Linked DNA regions of Homo sapiens: region 2 is linked to region 1. The links are contacts of gene promoters, found by promoter capture Hi-C in blood cells and fetal thymus (Javierre and others, 2016). All regions are on one chromosome and are shown on one strand. The core of a region is centred on a gene start or on the middle of the fragment in contact, and the rest is flanking DNA. Distances in the headings are between cores, read along the strand shown.

Evidence for each region. The method cuts DNA at HindIII sites, captures the fragments that hold promoters and counts their contacts. A CHiCAGO score of 5 or more calls a contact.
Region 2: a contact is called between a fragment that was not itself captured here and the fragment with the promoter of F2R in region 1, in 1 of 17 cell types (megakaryocytes). The highest score is 6.2, in megakaryocytes.

The regions. Positions count from the first base shown.
Region 1 is chr5:76,714,432-76,718,172 of GRCh38, forward strand. It overlaps F2R (coagulation factor II thrombin receptor), which reads left to right and starts at 1,695. Exons shown (of 2, transcript NM_001992.5): 1 at 1,695-1,964. The coding sequence starts at 1,877. RefSeq lists a silencer at 1,501-1,750 and an enhancer at 3,544-3,741. The HindIII fragment of the contact is 2,891 bases long and covers 48-2,938 here.
Region 2 is chr5:76,579,377-76,583,117 of GRCh38, forward strand. The region is part of intron 5 of IQGAP2 (IQ motif containing GTPase activating protein 2); the gene reads left to right. Among named protein-coding and RNA genes, the nearest start is that of F2RL2, 42 kb to the right of the region's middle. RefSeq lists an enhancer at 2,851-2,940. The HindIII fragment of the contact is 2,766 bases long and covers 265-3,030 here.

The DNA.
Region 1 (3,741 bases), core at 445-2,944:
CTTGGGTATGTTTCCAGAGGATAACTGAACGGGGATAGATTTTAAAAAGCTTTATTTAACTGGGTACTTCCGCAATTTAGTGATCAACTTCTGTGTACAACAAGGTACTGTCCTTTGAGGATGATGGGAGAATACAGGGAAGAACGAAATCGCCTCTGATCGTACTTTCTCCACGGATGTAAGTGTCCGGGCTCTAGTGGGGGAATGATACTCTTCGTGCGAAATTCACTTTTAAAAAAGGCTTAGAAAACTGACCACCGGCTCTCAGCTGCAGCTTATCAACCACAGAACTCCGAATATGCCCGCACATCAGTGCGCTGGGTTAAGAGGAGAAGGGGCTGCGGCTGAGCTTTCCTAGAAACAGCTATTTGGGGACCCATTTCCTGTTGGAGTCTGAAAGGCGCACGCACCAGAGCCAGTGGCAAAGCAACTTAAGCTGCAGGCTCCTCCTGCCCACCCCCAGCCGCGACGCCCCTGGGGGCCCTTAGCAGACTGCCAAGCGAGTGTCCCCGCCCTGTGCCTTGAATTTAGCCAAACTCCTTTAATATCAGGCCTGGCGCGGTGATTCACGCCTGTAATCCCCGCACTTTAGGAGGCTGAGGCAGGAGGATCGCTTGAGGCCAGCAGTGAAATTAGCCGGACATGGTGGCGCGCGCCTTTCTGTGGTCCCAGGTAATCCGGAGGCTGGGGCGAAAGGGTGGCCTGAGCCAGGGAGATCGAGGCTGCAGTGAGCCGTGTTGGCGCCACTGCACTCCAGCCTGGGCGACAGGGCAAGACCCTGCCTCAAAAACAAAACAAACTGTAATATCGTTCAAGAACGTGTGAAGGACACTTGGAAAGTTACCAGGCCATTTCTCTCCTGGGCGCCCGCGGCCCTAGAACGCCGGCCTCACCGGCAGACGCGCGCCCTCCTCCCAGATGCGCAGGTGACCCCGGCGGGCGGCGCGGGAAAGGGAAGAGCTCCGCGAGGCCGCGCGGGGGGGAAGCGGGAGAAGCCGCTCTTCCTATTCCACTCGCAGTCTGCGTGTGGGGGAAACGAGTGCCCGGCGTATGAAACGCCTAACTTCGCGAAATAAAGAGAGACGTATAAAAGTTCAAGAATTCTGTCCAGACTCAAGGGCCCTTTCTCATTTAGGGGCAACCCTGTCACTACATCATAAACTTTTAAATCCGTGATCCCCACGTTACAAAAGCAGAAGTCCCTTTTAGACTTTTAGCGAAAACTGAACTTTGCCGGTGTCCCACACGGAGGGAGGGAGGACGGGAGGCCACGCCAGGGCTGCGGGGCTGCAGGGCGTGGACGCATCCTGGCCGGGGCGTCCACTGTCGACGTCTCCACATCCCAGGAGGGTCGAGACGGCCGCGGGAAGCAGCCTGCGAGCCGTGCGGCCCCATTCCAAGGACCCCGCCAGTGTGAGTCACTGACAGCTTCGCGAATCAACGGTGCCCAGAGGAAAAAACTTCTCATTTGGACTTCTAGGCCCGGCAGTGGCCGGCGGCCAGGGCCCCCCAGTAGGGCAGGGCGGGGCGGGGCGGGGCGCACAGAGCCAGAGGGGCTTGCGAGCGGCGGCTGAGGGACCGCGGGGAGGGGGCGCCGAGCGGCTCCAGCGCAGAGACTCTCACTGCACGCCGGAGGGCGCCCTTCCTCGCTCGCGCCCGCGCGACCGCGCGCCCCAGTCCCGCCCCGCCCCGCTAACCGCCCCAGACACAGCGCTCGCCGAGGGTCGCTTGGACCCTGATCTTACCCGTGGGCACCCTGCGCTCTGCCTGCCGCGAAGACCGGCTCCCCGACCCGCAGAAGTCAGGAGAGAGGGTGAAGCGGAGCAGCCCGAGGCGGGGCAGCCTCCCGGAGCAGCGCCGCGCAGAGCCCGGGACAATGGGGCCGCGGCGGCTGCTGCTGGTGGCCGCCTGCTTCAGTCTGTGCGGCCCGCTGTTGTCTGCCCGCACCCGGGCCCGCAGGCCAGGTGAGAGATGCACGGGAATGGGGTGCGCGGGCGGAGGGACGCCGAGGGGAGACTGCGGGGGTCACTGTTGCGCCTTCTCCTCACCCCTGCCTCAGTTTCCTCCGAAAGCCAAACTGGCATTTGGGCTGAGATCTGGAGTTTTTTCCAGTCACGTTTAGGTGGGGCGTGCCACCCCCTTCGCGGGCCCAGCCGATGCCCCTTTGGACTCGATCTTGGAGGGTGCAGCCCGCCTGCCACGGGGTGTTGGATATGGAGGAGGATGGAGCGGAAGCCCCCTGGGGGAGCCTGCAGTCCTGCGTTGCACTTGTCATTGTGTTTCTCCCAGGACCACCCCCAAAAAGAAAAGCTCTCACGTTGCTCCACCAATAAACGTTTCGATCTTTAAAATATAAAGTGGCGAACCGCTGCCGCTGAAGTTTTGCTTTGTTGGAAGTTTTTTTCTTGCACATTTTACAGGCGAGAAAAGTGATGTAGAGAAAAGCCCAGGCAGTCCCTTGGCATGTTTAGCAGAGAATCAGTACCAGCAGCCCCCGGCCCGGCCTTGTGTCCAGGAGGTGCGCAGGGTGCGAGATATATGGTGACAATAGCAGAGGCTCCGCGTGGTGGCGGGGGAGGGGACATGGAGAGGATTTTGTTGTTACCTAGAACCCATTCCTTCTAAGTGAGTTGAAGAGAGAGATCCCTCCCCAGGACCGGGCTCCCTCGAACACTGTGGGATCCCAGTATTTCTTAACGAGATTTCTGATCCACTGCAAGAAGGTTGCTCCCCTAGAATATTTTCCCCACTAGTAGTCTATTTTTAAGTATCTGGCCACTTGACCAAATAAATAAATTTGATTAATTTATTTGGTCAAATATTTTCTGTATCCCTTTCCCCAAGAGCAGCACAGATGAGTTGTTTTTAGCCTGTAAAGGCGCTAATTAGAAAGTGAGAAAAGTGTTTTTGAATTTCCTAATAACAATAGTATTTTATAAGCTTTGAGCCATTTTTTTTACGCTGAAAGAAGTTCTAGCGGGTTTTCTTGTTATCGCTAAAAGAATGTGCACTCTATATTGCTCCCACACTCAAAAAAAAGTGTAGACACATCAAGATTAAGAGGTGACAAAGACATAGCATGTTCTCGCCTCTCTGTCTTTGTTCAGGGTGAGTTTTGAGATGCTTTTGGGAAAACTAAGAGCTCCAGACTGGGGCCCAGTGTTTAGCAGTAACTAGCCTGCCTGCAGATAAGTGAGCATTGTTGCCGAAAGTGTTTGAGAGAACACCGAGAACTCCTGAAAAATTGTTTGCGATGAGATATGATTTCACATACCATTATGTAATTTGCACAATGTAGTTTGAGGACACGCTCTTGAGAATCCAGTGTTTTGTTTGAGATTTGGATCATGGGGTGGAGAACAGAGCTTATAGAAATGCTGCACCCTTTCTCACAGTGGCCTCCCAGCAAGGTGTGTAGCCTCATTAGGGAGTGAAGTCAAAGCGTACTGGTTTCTGCCAAGCTTCTTACATCCTCATGGCAGGAGTGGTGCATGTTAATATGGACAGTGCTGGTGTAGACAGAAAGGCAGGTGGATGAACTTGGCTAGTTTATCAACACTGGATTCTGGAACCACTTTGGGAGGGAAAGAAGAAAGGAGTATGATAGAGGAAAAGGAGCGCTTGCTAAGTGCCATATTCCATGTCAAGCCCTGGGCCAGAAGGAATTTTCACTTGGATTGTCTCATTTCACCTTGTCAAAACACCTTGTTAAGGTGGGTATTTATCCCCTTTTGCTGATTC
Region 2 (3,741 bases), core at 398-2,897, 140 kb before region 1:
TGGGTTCTTCTCCCATGGCGAGTCAGACCCTGGCCACAGGCATCAGGCTAAACTTTCTTTGTTTAAAAAAAAAAAAAAAAAATCAGACCGCATTTAAGTACCCGGCTTTCAGGTAGGTCTTTATTTACAATCTGGTCCCCACCCCTGCCCCCCTTCCCCATTACCCTGAAATAATTTACTTTCTTAAGTCTCACTTGACCAGCATTGTATAATCCATTGTCCTGTCATAATGATGTATTGGCCTGATCCATTAACATTATTAAAAGCTTATGTATGCCTTTTAAATATTTTTTTTTTAATTAGTTGGGCTTTCTAGAGGTTTTCATCCCCTGGGAGACAAGGGATTGACTGTACCCAGTGATCCTTAGGCTTTTGGGCTGATTTATCATCTCAGATCATGTTTCTAGTCCTGCCTCCACTTAGTTAGTGGATGTGACCACCAGTGCTGGACCCTCTTTCTACCCGGTGTTTCTGTCACCACCTATGCTCCTTGGTTCTTCCTTATCTTGGGGCACTTCCTTTGTTTTCTGGGACTATTTAGTTTACTCAAAGTTCTTGGTCTTTATTCTTTCATGTAGTATAAATAGTATAAAAATATCTATATATAAACAAATATAGGCCAGGTGTTGTGGCTCATGCCTGTAATCCCAGCACTTTGGGAGGCTGAGGCAGGCAGATCATGTGAGGTCAGGAGTTTAAGATCAGCCTGGCCATGATGGTGAAACCTCATCTCTACCAAAAATACAAAAATTAGCCAGGTGTGGTGGCAGGTGCCTATAATCACAGCTACTCGGGAGGCTGAGGCAGGAGAATCGCTTGAACCTGGGAGGCGGAGGTTGCAGTGAGCTGAGACTGTGCCACTGCACTCTAGCCTGGGCAACAGAGGGAGACTCCATCTCAATTAAAAGAAAAAAAAAAAAGCATGGTGGCACACGCCTGTAGTCCCAGCTACTCGGGAGGCTGAGGCAGGAGAATAGACCCAGGAGGCGGAGATCACAATAAGCCAAGATCGCGCCACTGCACTCCAGCCTGGGCAACAGAGCGAGACTCCGTCTCAAAGAACAAAACAAAACAAAACAAAACAAACAAACAAAAAACAGATATAGAAGAAACAAAGTACTTGTGTTTTAATAATGCTCCCCAACTTGTTAAAGTCAATATAAATACACATTCGCTATTTATCTCTTTTTTTTATTACAACTTCCTTTTTGGACACTGTATATTATTCTCTTGATTATTGTTTTGAACCTGTGGCCTTTCTCAGACTTAACCAAGATTAATATCTCTTTCTTTTTGATGAACCAGATTGTTTCAGCTTGGTCAGTCTGAGCTCTTTCTGGCCCACTTCCTTGTCCTTCTAGCACCGTCCCTGACATTCTTTGAAATATCCTTGCTCGTGGTCACAACAGGATGTTCCAGTCCTATCCTGATTATTTCTGCTTTGAGATGTGGAACCACCACTCTCTAGGGATTCCTCTTAAAAGTCATGTGTTTATATTAATTTTTCAAGTTTAACCTTATTAGCTTACTGGATTCTGCTTTTCTTGCTGTCTAGTTCATTTGACCATTGAGATTCTTCTACATGGGCAGCCACAAACGGAAGCTATGTCTGCCTCTCCTCTGTGATAGGATTACTCTTCCCGCTGCTGATACTGTAGCTGTGTCGCAGCAGCCATGTTTTCAGGTGCAATGGTGATGCCATGGCTCTGGCAGACCCACTTCTGGTTCACCAGCCGTCCAGGTACTCTGGGAGCTTTGTGGAGTAGAGTTTGTCTAGCCAGCTCCCACACAGCCAGGTGGCTGTCTTGCTTACCAGGTGGCCTTTGAACCTGCTCCTCAGGCATTAATGCATAACTTTCCTTGTCTTAACACTCTGTTCCCTTAGAACCTTTTCCTTCCCTAAGAAACTGATTGAACCCTTATATCAGATTGATTATATCTCTAACAGTGAACATATTTGCATTTATAAATAAGATTTCCAAAGACAGTTTCTTAGCTCAAAGGACAGGCTCTAATCCTAGGTTCTCAGAAGGGATATCTGGAGATGGCAGTATTTGGAAGTAAGGTGAGGGAGGCAGTTGCACCTGCTTATTTCTTTCAAGTCCTTCCTTGCTCAGAATTCTCTCTGTGCTCTGAACCATTCCTTTCCCTTTCCTCCTCTTTCTGTCCTAAATTAGTATGGTGGTTATGCCTTTCTGTCTTCCTAAATTCTGAGCTCTTAAGAGACTATGAACCACATCTTGTTACTTCATACAGCTTACGTGCTATTGATTCCAAGTTAAAGTCTCTGGAGTTTGTATATTTAACTCTTCAGGAGGTTTAATTGAACTAATTTCTCTATGATAAGGCTACCTCAGGATTCCTTTGGTTTGGGGCTGAAAATTAGGTATAGAACCCTGGATTTTGATATGATATTGGCAGTGATATATGTGACTAAGATGGAAAAATTTGGTTCAGTAAATAAAACTATTTCAAACATGGAGTCTGTGGTGAAATAGAGATTCTTGGCATTGGAAAAAGTAAGAAAACCACTTTGATAGGTTATCAATAAGTGTTTGTATACAAAGGACACATTTATTTAACAAAGAATAGTAAGAACAAAGGTTAACACAAATGGAGCTTTTAACTATGTGCCTGGCACTGCACAAAATACTGTACTGGTATAATCTCATTTTATCTTCATAACATATCTGTGCAGTGGTCACTATTATTACTCCCATTTTATCACCAAGGCAGTTGAGGCACAGAGAGGCTGCCGAAGGTCACACAGTTAGTAAAAACCAGGATATGTGAGAACTGAACCTGTGCTATTATGAATTCAGCCAGCCAATGGCTTCAAAAGAAGTCAATTATTTCCCTACTTCTAAGAAAATTAAAAGAACACTGGTATCAGACTTGAACTTCAGCACAGGCCTCTCAGCTATTATATTTAACATGTTTTAAATGAAGAATCATGGAACTTGAGAAGGGGAAGGGCCTTGGGAAGTTATTGTAGTCTAAGTCATTCATTTCACAGATAAGGGAACTGAAAGCTTGGGTTACGTGACTTGCTCTTAGTCACACACTGAGGTTTTACCAGTTTTGGGACCAGGATTCAGCGCTTCTGGATTCTAGTCCTGTGGTCTTTCTGCTCTACCATGAGGCTTTGATATACAAACATTCATTCCACATGTTATAGTACAAAATGAGCTACACATAATGTGATCCAAGAAAGCTGAAATAAATTTAGCTCCTGCCTTTTAAGTTTGCATTTCATTACGATAGTACCTTTTAGTGTATATCCTGAAAGTATAGAAAAAACTAATACCACTAGTTTTATCTTGAAAGTGGTAGAAAAAACTAATGCCATGTGATATTGGCAGTAATGTATGTGACTAAGATGGAAAAATTTGGTTCAGTAGATAACAACTACTACTACTACTACTACTATATACTACTTTCATGATATACACTAAATGGTATTTTTTAAAACTTTCTTTATTGCTTCCTGGACTTTAAGTGATATTATTTGTACAAGTAGGAGCACATGGGTCAATGAGTCGGTAGCTACCTCTGGGCAACCCCTCCGTTGCTGGCCTCACTCAGCTGCACAGGTGTGCTGTAGCTTTTGGTGTGGTAGGAGGCTTGCTACCTCACAAAAAGTGCTCTCTTAGACATGAGAAGCAAAGGTGACATTAATTCCATGACTTCCTTTGGAATGCTCTCAGCCCTTTGACTTGGCTGTTAGGTACCAAACGGTGC